Regions from separate parts of the Homo sapiens genome. Here regions 2, 3, 4 and 5 are each linked to region 1. The links are contacts of gene promoters, found by promoter capture Hi-C in blood cells and fetal thymus (Javierre and others, 2016). All regions are on one chromosome and are shown on one strand. Each heading gives the region's core, a stretch centred on a gene start or on the middle of the fragment in contact. The rest is flanking DNA. Distances are from core to core; before and after follow the strand shown. Region 1 holds the start of DIMT1 (DIM1 rRNA methyltransferase and ribosome maturation factor). Region 2 overlaps TRIM23 (tripartite motif containing 23). Region 3 overlaps TRAPPC13 (trafficking protein particle complex subunit 13). Region 4 overlaps PPWD1 (peptidylprolyl isomerase domain and WD repeat containing 1). Region 5 overlaps CENPK (centromere protein K).

The links. The method cuts DNA at HindIII sites, captures the fragments that hold promoters and counts their contacts. A CHiCAGO score of 5 or more calls a contact.
Region 2: a fragment that was not itself captured here is called in contact with the fragment with the promoter of DIMT1 in region 1 in 2 of 17 cell types (naive CD8 T cells and total B cells); the score reaches 8.6 in naive CD8 T cells.
Region 3: a contact is called between a fragment that was not itself captured here and the fragment with the promoter of DIMT1 in region 1, in 7 of 17 cell types (total CD4 T cells, naive CD4 T cells, naive CD8 T cells and 4 more). The highest score is 13.0, in total CD4 T cells.
Region 4: a fragment that was not itself captured here is called in contact with the fragment with the promoter of DIMT1 in region 1 in 2 of 17 cell types (naive CD8 T cells and naive CD4 T cells); the score reaches 8.5 in naive CD8 T cells.
Region 5: a fragment that was not itself captured here is called in contact with the fragment with the promoter of DIMT1 in region 1 in 1 of 17 cell types (naive CD8 T cells); the score reaches 5.2 in naive CD8 T cells.

Annotation. Positions count from the first base shown.
Region 1 is chr5:62,402,477-62,405,176 of GRCh38, reverse strand. DIMT1 (DIM1 rRNA methyltransferase and ribosome maturation factor) reads left to right here and starts at 1,272. Exons shown (of 12, transcript NM_014473.4): 1 at 1,272-1,483; 2 at 1,831-1,904. The coding sequence starts at 1,405. RefSeq lists an enhancer at 1,062-1,351. The HindIII fragment of the contact is 1,140 bases long and covers 933-2,072 here.
Region 2 is chr5:65,609,296-65,611,995 of GRCh38, reverse strand. TRIM23 (tripartite motif containing 23) reads left to right here. Exons shown (of 11, transcript NM_001656.4): 4 at 115-393; 5 at 953-1,135; 6 at 2,538-2,700. Among named protein-coding and RNA genes, the nearest start is that of TRIM23, 14 kb to the left of the region's middle. The HindIII fragment of the contact is 3,505 bases long and covers 1-2,700 here.
Region 3 is chr5:65,629,453-65,632,152 of GRCh38, reverse strand. The region is part of intron 1 of TRAPPC13 (trafficking protein particle complex subunit 13); the gene reads right to left. SHLD3 (shieldin complex subunit 3) reads right to left here. Exons shown (of 2, transcript NM_001365341.2): 2 at 1,225-2,685. The coding sequence starts at 2,565. The coding sequence ends at 1,813. Among named protein-coding and RNA genes, the nearest start is that of TRAPPC13, 5.8 kb to the right of the region's middle. The HindIII fragment of the contact is 2,093 bases long and covers 331-2,423 here.
Region 4 is chr5:65,584,670-65,587,369 of GRCh38, reverse strand. It overlaps PPWD1 (peptidylprolyl isomerase domain and WD repeat containing 1), which reads right to left. Exons shown (of 11, transcript NM_015342.4): 9 at 2,275-2,356; 10 at 1,189-1,371; 11 at 1-117. Among named protein-coding and RNA genes, the nearest start is that of PPWD1, 23 kb to the right of the region's middle. The HindIII fragment of the contact is 3,088 bases long and covers 1-2,700 here.
Region 5 is chr5:65,541,841-65,544,540 of GRCh38, reverse strand. CENPK (centromere protein K) reads left to right here. Exons shown (of 11, transcript NM_022145.5): 6 at 1,693-1,739. Among named protein-coding and RNA genes, the nearest start is that of CENPK, 20 kb to the left of the region's middle. The HindIII fragment of the contact is 5,104 bases long and covers 1-2,700 here.

The DNA.
Region 1 (2,700 bases), core at 23-2,522:
TATTTCTTCAACCAAACAGAATACACACAGAAAAATTTAAAAGAGCCATTACACTGGCTGGCAAAACAGATGTGGATATTATGGCCCTGGTACACACGGAGTTTATAGTCAGGTACACTGTCCTGTCACAACGACCAATACGTTATCGTATTTACAGCGTTTTGGAGTTTCTGTCCATCTCTGTCAATATAATACACTTTGAAATAAGTTTCTTACTTAGAATCCCTAGCAGTGTTTGATACACAGTTGGAGCTCAATAAATGTTTACGGAGTGAATGATGAGGCACAAAAGGAATTTGTTGAATTATTTGTTAAATGAATCAAATAATTTTCTAGGATTCACGGGCTGTCTTCTGCACGATAAGCTTCATTCTGTGGGTCTGAGTTTCTCCTGGTTCTCAATTCTGTCTTTTTGTGGATTATCTACTTTGTAGCTGGAGCTTTGTATCTGTTTAAGATAATTATTCTTCTATTCCTTTTTTTTTTTTTTTTTTTTTGAGACGGAGTCTCGCTCTGCCGCCCAGGCTGGAGTGCAGTAGCGCGATCTCGGCTCACTGCAACCTCCGCCTCCTGGGTTCACGCCACTCTCCTGCCTCAGTCTCCCAAGTAGCTGAGACTACAGGCGCCCACCACCACGCCCGGCTAATTTTTTGTATTTTTAGTAGAGACGGGGTTTCCCCGTGTTAGCCAGGATGGTCTCGATCTCCTGACCTTGTGATCCGCCCGCCTCTGCCTCCCAGAGTGCTGGGATTACAGGCGTGAGCCTCCGCGCCCGGCTCTTCTATTCTTAGTAGAAGCAACCAGTAGCCCTAGCGAAACCAGACGTTAATTCCATTCTCGCAGTTCTTTTCCCCAGGGCAAGCAGCAAAAAATGCATTCCCACAAAAGAGCAAGCTCATCCCCAAATCCCGGGTTTCCCACCCCCACAAGCTTCAGGAAAACAGGAGCGAGGCACGTGAATACTTCTTTGGACCTCAGCGATCCCAGAACCTAGGCTACTAAAACATCCATAGGCTTAACCTCATCATATAACTTAAACAGCCTTCGCAACACCGAGAGCACCACACCAACACCTTCTTATCCAGCCCTGGTTGGGACAAGGGCTCCAACTCCAGACTGCAGTCCTCGGTAGCGCGGTGTCTTCTGGGATCTGTAGGCTCCCGCGGTTCGGCCTTCCTCCCTCTGTGACTCCAATTCCCGGCAGTCAGTGGGCTCCAAGGTCCGCCCTTTTTCTGGAGGAGGAGCTCAGAGCGTACGGGAGGGGGCGGACCCTTGCCCCTCCGGCGCTTGGGCCAGAGTGGTGCGGGCGGCGCGTGGCGGCGATCCCCACGTGGTGGCTTTCTCACGCTAGCCCTCTTTGGTCCTCCTTGACGTCCCGGGCCTGTGGGCCCGCTTTCTGCCGAGATGCCGAAGGTCAAGTCGGGGGCCATCGGCCGCCGCCGCGGGCGGCAGGAGCAGCGCCGGGAGCTGAAGAGCGCTGGAGGTGCGGATCCCCGCGAGGAAGCTGGGGTCGGTCGGGTCAGGTCTTCCGGCAGGACCTAGCCTGGGGTGCGGACCAAGACCTGATCGGCAGAGGCCGGTCAGGACGCGCTCCCGTGAGCGCGGAAGGCAGGGGTGGGTCCCCGACTCGGCCGCAGGCCCTGCGCGTCGCCGCTGACTTCCTTTCCAGCTGGAGGATGAACTTATAAAGAGTTTGTCAGTCCTGGCGTGACGTTTCGTGGCCCTGGTTGGCGCAGAAATCTTCCCCATACCCATGCAGCTTTCTTCTCTGGTACTGCCTAATATCTAATCTCAGTAGGAAAATTAATGCTGTTTCGTATTTTCTTACAGGACTCATGTTCAACACGGGGATTGGGCAGCACATTTTGAAAAATCCTCTCATTATTAACAGCATTATCGATAAGGTGGGTGTGGAAGAGGAAAGGGAGAGAGTTGTTGGTTTATTAATTTTATTCCTATGAATACATAAGCGCAGAAAGTCTGCCTGCCGTAAATTAGATGCTCTGTAAATATTTGTTGAATGAATCAAATAATTGTCTAGGATTCTTGGGCTGTCTTCTGCATGATAAGCTTCATTTTGTGGGTCTGAGTTTCTCCTGGTTCCCAATTCTGTGTCTTTTTGTGGATTATCTACTTTATAGCTGGACCTTTGTATTTGTTCAAGATAATTATTCTTCTATTTCTAATCACCTTTTTGATCACTTAGTTTTTATGTACTCCATCTATTTATGTCTAAACTACACATTAGAAAGTTTGTTCCCCAGAAAAACATATAGTACTACATATAAATTATTTGGTGTATGCTAGTACCACATATAAATTGCTTGGAGTATTACTGCTTTCTGAGTTATTGATGTTCTCTTATGGTTATGGATGATTGGGTGTTAGGAAGTGAAATACACACGGTGCAGATTACACTTATGGTTAAAAGCAAGGAAAGCATCCTGGAGCTGTAGAAAGAGCATTACATAGTTAAAGGATCTTGTCAGGCTTCGTGTCATTTGAAAACTGAGAAAAAAAGAAAGAAGGGTCATGTACTATTTTAACCTTTTTAGCTCATAGTTTCCTTTGAGCATCTGATGAAAGCTATGGCCGTAGAATATTAGAGCTGTGTGCAGACATTCAATTTTGTGTACAGTTTCTGCTCTTCTGCATCCTTGAAACCATACATGGGTTGAAAATTGAAAAATCTTCGCCCAA
Region 2 (2,700 bases), core at 142-2,641, 3.2 Mb before region 1:
TCATATGTAAATATTGTTCAGTTAAGCAAAAAGGATTATGGATTCTATATTTAAAAATTCGTCATGTTATACTGATTGGGTTCAATTTTAAGGCATTAATTTTTTGTTTATCAGAGCATCATTCGTTGTGATGAAGATGAAGCTCACCTTGCCTCTGTATATTGCACTGTGTGTGCAACTCATTTGTGCTCTGAGTGTTCTCAAGTTACTCATTCTACAAAGACATTAGCAAAGCACAGGCGAGTTCCTCTAGCTGATAAACCTCATGAGAAAACTATGTGCTCTCAGCACCAGGTGCATGCCATTGAGTTTGTTTGCTTGGAAGAAGGTTGTCAAACTAGCCCACTCATGTGCTGTGTCTGCAAAGAATATGGAAAACACCAGGGTCACAAGGTATGAATTTAATTATTAATCAGTTGGATCACTGTAGCTACTTTACCAGCTCAGTATTCGTTTTCACTGACCTGGTTCTTTATTCTGAAAGTAGGGATTGAAGAAGAGTTAAGTGATGAGTGATTGGGTTTGGTAGCATGAAAATAAATGAGAGATTTAATTTCTGAATGTTATAAAAAAAAAAAAACTTCAAAGAGGCATCATGATTCTTCACAAAAAAATAGCTTTCGAGCAGGAAACAAACATTCTGTTTGCTTGCATGTTTTCATAATGCACCAGATTGTTTTGACAATATTTATGTCTGTTAGCTCTTACTTAGGATATGATTTTAGAGATAGTCTCTTGGTTTTTTGTTTAGCAATAAACGGACTTCCAAATTTTAAATTACTTCTTTGCAGTACAGTTTTCTTATAAAGGAGTGAAAGTAAATTAGTATTTTTCTGTGTCATAAAAGTCACTTGTGGCTGATGCTTTTTTGTATTAATAGGGATTTAAATAGTTTTTTATATTATTAGTCAATACTATGAGTTCTTTTCTCTAATTATGGTACATTTTATAGCATTCAGTATTGGAACCAGAAGCTAATCAGATCCGAGCATCAATTTTAGATATGGCTCACTGCATACGGACCTTCACAGAGGAAATCTCAGATTATTCCAGAAAATTAGTTGGAATTGTGCAGCACATTGAAGGAGGAGAACAAATCGTGGAAGATGGAATTGGAATGGCTCACACAGAACATGTATGGATTTTTTTTCTTCTTCACTTTCTCATTCTTTTTTATTTTTCATATTTTCACCTTCTACTAAGTAATTAATGGGCAATTACAATTTGCCAGTATTGCACCAATCATTAGAAAGTTTTTTAAAAGTCCCTGTCTTTCAGGAACTCATTCATCATGGAAAAGAGAGAGTTTGAAATATGGTAACTATTTTATGGAGGAGAAGTACAGGGTGCTTTGGCATCACAAAACAGGGACAATGATTTATGGAGGTCAGAGAAGTCCTTATAGAAGAAATGGTGTTTAAACTGAGATTTGAAGAATTTCAGTCAGGGAAAAGAGCAGAACGGGGAATGAGTTGTCCCAAGAAGGGAACAATATGTTAAAATGTTTGTAAGTGAGGATTGTACATATTGTAGAGACTTAAAGAAGCTCACTGTAGTTAGAGCTTTAAGTATTGAATGGGACATGACAAGAAAAGAGGATATGGAGAGTTCAAAGCCAAATCATGCAGGATCTTGTCAGCCATGTTAAAGAGTTCAGAACTTAGTTTAAGGACAGTGATGAGCCATTGAAGAATTGACTTAGGAATGATATAATCAGATTTTCCTCAAGAAAGGTTGTTTTAAATGTAGAAAATGAATTGGAGGAGCAACAAAATTGGAAGCAGGCAGACCTATTAGGATGTTGTTAAAGTTTTCTAGTTAAAATACTAGAGATGTTTATGGCCTATAATACACTAGGGTAGTGAGAGTGGACACAAGTCAATGGATTTGAGATTTTAAATAAGTAGAATAGATAGGTCTTAGTGATTAATTGTTAATATTGATTGGATAGGTAACTTAGAGGTGATGAGGCATGATCAGATTTTGGGTGTATTTTGAAGTCAGCAGAATTTGCTGAGGGACTAGTGGGCTATGAAAGAGAGCTGATAATGATGACTCCGGTTGTTTTTGCTTCAACATCCTGAAGGATGGAGTTGCCATTTACCAAGACAGAGGCAATTAGGTTTGGGAATAGGGGAGACTGGAGATTAGGCATTCCATTTTGCTTGAGATGTCATTTATAAACAGTTGAATTTCCAATGTCTGTGCATTAGGGGAAAGATCTAGCATGGAGATTTATATTTTGGAATTTAATATAGATGGTATTTAAACAATGTCTCGCTCGGTCACCCAGGCTGGCATGCAGTGTTGTGATCACCACTCACTGCAGCCTTGACTTCTGGGGCTCAATCAATCCTCCCGCCTCAGCCTCCTGAGTAGCTGGGACTACAGGCACATGCCACCACGGCTGGCTAATTTTTTCCATTTTTTGTAGAGACAGAGTTTTGCCATGTTGCCTAGGCTGAAATTTTAAATATTTCACAGGTAAAATCTTTATTAACATTACAGTTGCTTAAAATTTATTTTCATTTTCTTAGGTACCAGGGACTGCAGAGAATGCCCGGTCATGTATTCGAGCTTATTTTTATGATCTACATGAAACTCTGTGTCGTCAAGAAGAAATGGCTCTAAGTGTTGTTGATGCTCATGTTCGTGAAAAATTGATTTGGCTCAGGCAGCAACAAGAAGATATGACTATTT
Region 3 (2,700 bases), core at 128-2,627, 3.2 Mb before region 1:
TACCCCCGCCCACCAAGAGGCTGCGACTACTGTCGCATGCCACCATGCCCGGTTAATTTTTGTAGTTTTTGTAGAGACGGAGTTTCACCATGTTGCCCAGGCTGGTAAGTTCACTTTTAGTACCAGTTGGTGTTTTCTATTTCTTCCCTATTATTTTTTTCATTTCATTAGAAAACAAATCTGAATAAAGAGAAAATACAGTCTCAAGGGAATCCTGAAACATTCCTTTTTTTTTTTTCTTAGTGTCCTGGAGTTCACCCAAACATGTAGCTAACATATTTGCTTATTATAGGTTCCAATTTCTATTATAAAGAAAAGTCCTATAAAGCTTAGTTTTTCATGATTCCTGTGGTTTAGCAGGGGATGAGATGGTGGGTAAAAAATGATCCTCCATTAAAAATAAAGTGATCCCAACTTGGTATTAAAAGCAACTTTTTTCTTCATATTTTCAGATTATGGCCTTTGCAGCAACGTAGATGCAACTGGAGGCCATTATCCTAAGCCAATTTATGCAGGAACAGAAAATCAAATACCACATATTCTCATAAGTGAGAGATAAACAATGAGTATACATGGACACAAAAAACAGAACAATAGACACTGAGGCCTATTTGAGGGTAGAAGGTGGCAGGGGGTGAGGACTAAAAAACTACCTATTGGGTATTATCCTGATTACATGGGTGACAAAACTATTTGTACACCAAACCCCTGTGGCACACAATTTACCCATATCACAAATCTGCACATGTACCCCTTGAACCTAAAATAAAAGTTAGAAAGAAAAAAAAATTAGTGGGCTTCCATTTTAAGCAACCTCAGCCATCTCAGGCTATGAAGAATCCCTCTGAAGGGAATGTTTACCATGCATTATCAAGCTCCTACCATGACAGGCACTGAGCTTCAAGGTAAACATGTCTATATTCCTAGTTAAGTGCAGTCTTATTTTTCTTAGGGAGCTGGTGTGTTTAATAGTAGTAATGACATGTAAGCTGTGTGAGGGCAAGGTCCATGTCTGTCTCCTTCCCTAGTATATCCTAGCACCTAGTGCAAAGTAGGCATTTAAATATGTTAAACAAACATACATGCTTCTACAAAACTTTTACTGTTTTAATCCCTTTGAGCATTTTTATGAGGTGATGTGTAAAACCAATTACAAGATTATGCTTATGGGGAACCTACAATGACTCCAATCATCAGCCAAGTAATAATTAGCACTAACTATCATTAATACTGAATTATCTGTATTAGAAGAAATAAACAATCATTCAACATTTGATACTTTCCTTCAAAACAGGATACATTATCGTTTTAGGCAAAGTATACATTTTGTATCGTTGTTTGAAAACAGCCTATCAATTGTTATTACATATCTTTGGAAACATCATTATAAATCTAGACTAGTCTCCCACTTTGAACTACATTCATGCCACATAAATAGCACTCCAAAGAGAATTGTTTCGAGTTTTATTTTTTAAAAAATTACACTTGAGGTAAGGAAAAAAATACAGTAAAATTAGATTTTAGAGATTAACCAAAATCCAAACTATACAACTTAATTCATGACTAATTCAATCACAGTTTGTAACAAAAGGAACAGAACATTTTTACCTTCAAATTCAGTGTAAACAATAATTTATCACATTTAAAAGAAGGCTGCCAATAAGCAGAACTCAGCAATTTCTTGACTTAATTGACAAGCCTAGGAATTCTAAAAAGTCATTAAAAATTTTAAAACCTGTAAAAATTATTTTATCTATTTCAATCCATATTCATTTCATTCAGAATATTCTTTTTGACAATCAGTGGAATTCATTACATACTAAAAATAACACCATATTTATGCACAAATAAATTAATTTTTCCAGTAAGAGCTAATCTTCCTTTAAGAAGACTTCCCACATATTCACAATACATAATATCACAGAACACCCATATTTGGCCTAAATGCCTCTGAATTGTAGCATTACAAGATGGAAGTTCATTGTGCCTAATAATTTGATTGAGTTTTGTCCAAATGTCTTCCAGAGTTTGGCTGTTACAAATAGTGTGTTCTATTGTCCATCTTGCTCTATAAAGTGAGTGTAAATTTAGTGCCTTTAAACTATCTTGCAATTTTTTAGACAAAGGAGAAACGTTTTTAGTACAATTATTGCTGGGAAGGGAAATACTCCAAGATCTCCTCTTGTGCTGTTTTCCCTTTTCTGATTGTTTACCCAGATTTCCAGAATTAGTCTGTTCCTTCAGTGTGTGTGACCAGGTTAAATGCTGCTTTTTCAAGCTAGGTTGAAACTCCAATAGATCTACTGTGCAATCATAACTGTGTGACTTAGCATCATGTTCTGAAATGGTTAAGTACTGTTTCACATCTTCAGCTGCCTCTTCAGAAATCACAGGTGGTGATCTTTTAGGTCTGAGTGGAAGCTTGGACCCATCATATGGAAACCAAGGTATAAATCTTGATAGCGGACGAGTAGGAAAGTCTTGAATTGCTTTTTCTGCAATTTTTGGCAGTTGTGTGGGATCACTCTCACATGGTCGATAATGTAATATTACTTCTGTAGTCATTCTGCAGTAATCCAGTTACTCTTAGTGATGAGAAAATTTCTTAGTTGAACTCCTCAGAGCTAGAATGTTAATTTATTATTGCAAGATTGTCTCTCTTGCCAAATCAGAGGGAAACAGGACCTAAAGTAGAAGTAT
Region 4 (2,700 bases), core at 201-2,700, 3.2 Mb before region 1:
GACATCCTCATAGGGCTTATCTGTTTTGGGATTGACTTTGACGTTGGAGATCCTCTGTACAACTTCCATTCCTTTAGTCACTCGTCCAAATACTGTATGCTTATTATCAAGCCAAGGCTGTGTTGGAGGACAAATGGAAAATCTTGGTAAACCCCAATTTCTTTAAATTATATCCTCTGGTTGAGCAAATTAAAGAGAATTTAAGTTTACGCTCCCCTTTAGCATATATTTAAAAAGAAGTACAATAATTTCTCAGCAATAAAAATGTAGCAGCTTTTAAAAGTTATTTCCAGTGTGTTAAAAAAAATAGAAGCATAGTATAATGTTTAATTAAATATCTGCATCTTTCAGACCAAAGGGAACTGGAAGATCTTCCCTAAAGGTAAGTTACTTCACATGGCTTACAGAATTGTGGCTAAGGCTTTAAAAGGTCTCTGGAGGACTCTTACCTGAACAGTTTATTCAGAGGCAGTTTGAAATAGTTTATGCAGCACATACTTTGGCATTAGACAGGTGGGAGTTCAAATGCTAGCTTGGCTACTTGACCTTTTGGCAAGTTAATCATGTCTCACTGTTTCTTCATCTATTATTGAAAACTGGGGATACTGATAGTAGAAGTACTGTGAATACTACATAAAACTATGTGCCTGGCAGATGGTAGTTACATTTTTCCCTTCTTCATCACTTAGTGCTTAATTCCAAAACAAAAACTAGGTAATTTTTATAATTTTGTGTTATGGCATAGCAATAGAGCTAGGTTACCTTATACTGTATTTCATCAAATCTAATGTATTCTGATTTCAGAGATACTAAAATGTGGGGGAAATTGTCTCAAAATTGTGAATTCATATACTCTAATCTTTGTATTCTAAAGACAAGGAAATAGGCTCACAGAAGTGAAATAATTTATTTTAGGTTACATCATCAGTAGAGGCAGAGTTGAGATTGAAACTCAAGTATCTTGAATCGTAGTCCATTGTATTTCTTACTACAGTGGCAGTATTGTTTTACCAATTCTAAACTGATTAGTCACATAATTTTATATTCTTGATCATTTTCATATTTGTATTCTGCTAGATGATATAAATAATGCAGAAAATACAGAATAATGCAGCTCTTCTACTGAGTTCACTCTCTTACATCATAACCTATCAATCTGTAGTTTATAAACAATGATACTGTACTTACCGTTGGTACTACCGTTATGAAAAACTGGGATCCATTAGTATTTGATCCCGCGTTAGCCATGCTGAGTGTGTATGGCCTGTCATGTCGTAATGTTGAATGAAATTCATCTTCAAATTCTCCTCCCCATATGCTTTCTCCTCCCATACCAGTACCTGTTGGATCTCCAGTCTGAATCATAAAGCCCTTAACAGAAAGTACACAAAAACATTACATTGTCCTTTTCGATATATGTACGCTTTGAAGTTTTATTTCTGCCAAGAGTGCTTTGTATTCAGTGTAATATTAACTGTCACTATAAAGTGATTTGATTAAACCCTTAACACTTAAATTTGGATGATGTATTTCCATTGCCCAACCACCACCTTGATTGAAACATAAATGCAAAGGTCGTCTTCTCATTTATAGACATGTTCTGTCTTTCTCAATAACCCAAATAAAGCCAGTTAATACTATCAATTTTAGGATCTGTATGTTATGTTTTATATAATTGCCCTCCTCTTCTCCCTCTCCCTTTCCCCAAATACTCTGGATTTCCTGGAAAGCCTTTTCGCTAATTCCTTTAGGACCCTGAGATCTGACTTTTCATCCTGCCGTTTCTGACCTGCCAGAAACCAAGCACTGTATCAGTGCCCCATCCACTTTATGGAAAGCTGCTCAACAAAATCCAGGGGCTGAGTTCTCTCTCCTCCTCTGGTATATTACAGGTTCTCACAGATCAGATGGCACTGTGGCTCCTCTATGATTGAAAAATCATATCTTCTAGATCTAGACCCTATCTAGCCACGACAAAGAGGTTACCTAGGTTACTGATGTAATCTCAGCATGACCCTTTATTCATTATCTTACCCTTTACTTTAGCTGCTGACAAAATATTGCTTCAGTGTTTCTAATCATGCCACTATTCCTGTTGATTCTAGATGTTGATATTTATGACCATCCACTCCTCCTTTGGCTTCCATAGTGTATTTTTCCTGTTCCTTTCCACTAAACTGATTAAGTGTGAGAGAAGAAGATTCCTTGCGCTTAAATCTCTTGCTATGTAATAATACAGTATTTCTTATATGACATGAAATTTATGTAACTTACCTTAATTATACGGTGAAATGTATGCCCATTATAATAACCATTTCTGCTGTGAACACAGAAGTTTTCCACTGTCTTAGGGCACCTATTAAGACATATGTTACAAATATGAAACCTATTCAGAGCATCTTAAAACAGTTTTCTTTGCAGTTCTGCTTCCTAATGATGTTTCCTTTCCATGTCTTCTGAATGTTTCAGAAGGACAGTTGTTTTTTTTTTTCATAATCTCTAATCTCAGGACAAGCACGGAGGGTCATGTAAGTAGTATATTCTTATTGTTCAACTTAGTTATCTTTAGAACATGACTGCTTAACTAATATTTGAGTTTGACAGTATTAAAATTTCAAGGTCATTTAGCAGTCAAAAAAAATACAGCCATAGCACCTTAAAAATATGTTTTTTTCTTAAGAGACAAGGTCTCACTATATT
Region 5 (2,700 bases), core at 97-2,596, 3.1 Mb before region 1:
TTGGATGTCTACCAGAAATAGTGGATCATATGATAGTTCTATTTTAAGTTTTTTGAGGAACCACCTATACTATTTTCCATAATGGTCACACCATATTTCAATCCCACCGACAGTGCACATGGTTTCAGTTTCTCAACATCCTTGTTAACACTTGTTACTTTCTGTTTTTTTGATAGTAGCTGTCTGCTGTGGCCTAAATATATCCCCCAAAATTCATGTTAAAACTTAATCACCATTATGATAGTGTTAAAAAGTGAGGTCTTTAGGATGTGATTAGTGAGCTTCTTATAGAGGTTGAAGGTAGTATCTAGTCTTTTTTTCCCCTTTTGCCTTCCACTATGTGAGGACACAGCAAGAAGACACCATCTTGGAAGCAGAGAGCAAACCCTTCCAAGGCACTGAATATTCTAATACAAACCTATCTATGAAGCACATGTAGAAAGTTCTTCCCTGTTAGAAGGCTTTCTAGAATAGCAGATACCTTTGAAAGTTTTCAGTAGCCTACTATTTGAGAAGTTTCAAATAGCTCTTCATTAGTAAAGGAAAATTTCTAGCATAAGGATTGAACGCATTAAAATTTGCTATACAAAATTACACATTTGTTTCTACTCATCAGGCTGGCAAAAATTTTAGAAGAGTTTGTAATATTTCTTGCTGTTTTTTCTTCATAGCTCATGGAAATGTCTTTAGAAAGGAAGCTGACATTCTCTATTCAGATTCAAAGTACACATTTCATTCTCTGAAATTTCATTTCTGAGAATCTGTTCTATAGAAATGAGAGCACCAGTACATAAAAACGTGTATAAAAGTCTGCTTACTGCATCCTTGTTTGTTATGACTAGAAACTAGACACAAAGTTAATCTAAAAGTGTTCAATCAAGAGGGCAATCACTCAGTATATTATGGTATATTCATTTTGGAATATCATGCAGCCATTAAAAGTTATGAATTAGACCTATATAGGTCTAGGTTTCCCTGGGGGTTTTATTGAGTGAAAGTAAGATGAATATAATATGTGTGATATGACCCCATTCTTGTAAAACCAATGATGATAAAAATAACCCTTTTAAGTGTATGTAAATGTATGTTACATATGTGTACATAGGATATATGACTACAGGGAAAGTATTTGAGGAACACACTATAGATTATTAGCTTCCCTTTTGAGGGTTTGAAGAACAAAAGAAGAAAAGAAAAAGGCACTAAACAGTACATAAATAGGATCAAATTTATCTAAAATTATATATAGTTGGCTATATGTGCAAAGATGTTAAAAATAAATAAAATGAAAACTGCACACATTTCGTAAAAAGTTGTGTATTGTCAAGGCAGGTGGATCACTTGAGGTCAGGAGTTCAAGACTGGCTTGGCCAACATGATGAAATCCCATCTCTACTAAAAACACAAAAATTAGCCAGGCATGTTGGTGGATGCCTGTAATCCCAGCTACTCAGGAGGCTGAAGCACGAGAATTGTTTGAACCAGGGAGGTGGAGGTTGCAGTGAGCCAAATAGCGCCATTGCACTGCAGCCTGGGTGACAAGAGGGAAACTCTGCCTTGGAGGGGAGAAAAAGTTGTATATTATATAAATGGAGATGGAAAGAAGTATCTTAGAAAACCGCAAAATTAAATTCTTGATTTTTGAGAATTAACTAAATATATGTGTAACTTTGTTTTGTTTTGTTTTTGTAGCAATTCCCTTGACTGAAGACGTTCTCATAACATTAGGAAAAGAAGAGGTAAGCCACTCAATGAATTTGTAGTGACCCCAAATAATTTCTAACTAGATCTATTTTAGATAAGTTCATGGCATAAGAAATAGGATAAAACCACTCTAAAACCATATTAAATTTTCTGCTTTTATTTATGTTTTATTGAACATAATATTTGATTTTTTTTTTTTGGAAACGGAGTCTCGCTCTGTTGCCCAGTCTGGAATGCAGTGGCACAATCCTGGCTCACTGTAACCTCTGCCTCCCAGGGTCAGGTGAGTCTCCTGCCTCAGCCTCCCGAGTAGCTAGGATTACAGGCATGCACCACCATGCCCGGCTAATTTTTGTATTTTTAGTAGAGACGGGATTTCAGTATGCTAGCCAGGCTGGTCTTGAACTCCTGACTTCGTGATCTGCCCGCCTCAGTCTCCCAAAGTGCTGGGATTACAGGCGTAAGCCACCACACCTGGCCTAAAGATTTGAATTTTGAACTCGGTTTTTGCATCAGAACTATTACTGAAGTTAGTGGTTATATGTAAACCTTAATCTCATATCTAGTTTTTAGTTAAACTTCACAATAAAAGCAAAATATTAAACATCGCTTAATGACCCCATACATACATCTCTCCTTCTGCTGTGGACTAAATATTTGTGTCTCCCAAAATCCATACGTTGAAATCTATTCCCCAGTGTGATGATATTAGGAGGTGAGACCTTTGGGAGGTGATTAGGTGCTGAGTGTAGGGCCTTCATAAATGAAATTAATGCCCTTATAAACGTCTGAAGAGACCAGTGTCCTCCCCTTCCATCTTGTGAGGACACAACTAGAAGGTACTGTCTGTGAAGAGGTGAGCCCTCAGTAGACATTGAATCTTGGACTTCCTAGCTGCCAGAATTGTGAGAAATAAATTTTTATAAGATCTCCAGTCTGTAGTATTTTGTTATAGGAGACTGAATGGACTATGACAGAAAGTTGGCACTGAGAAGT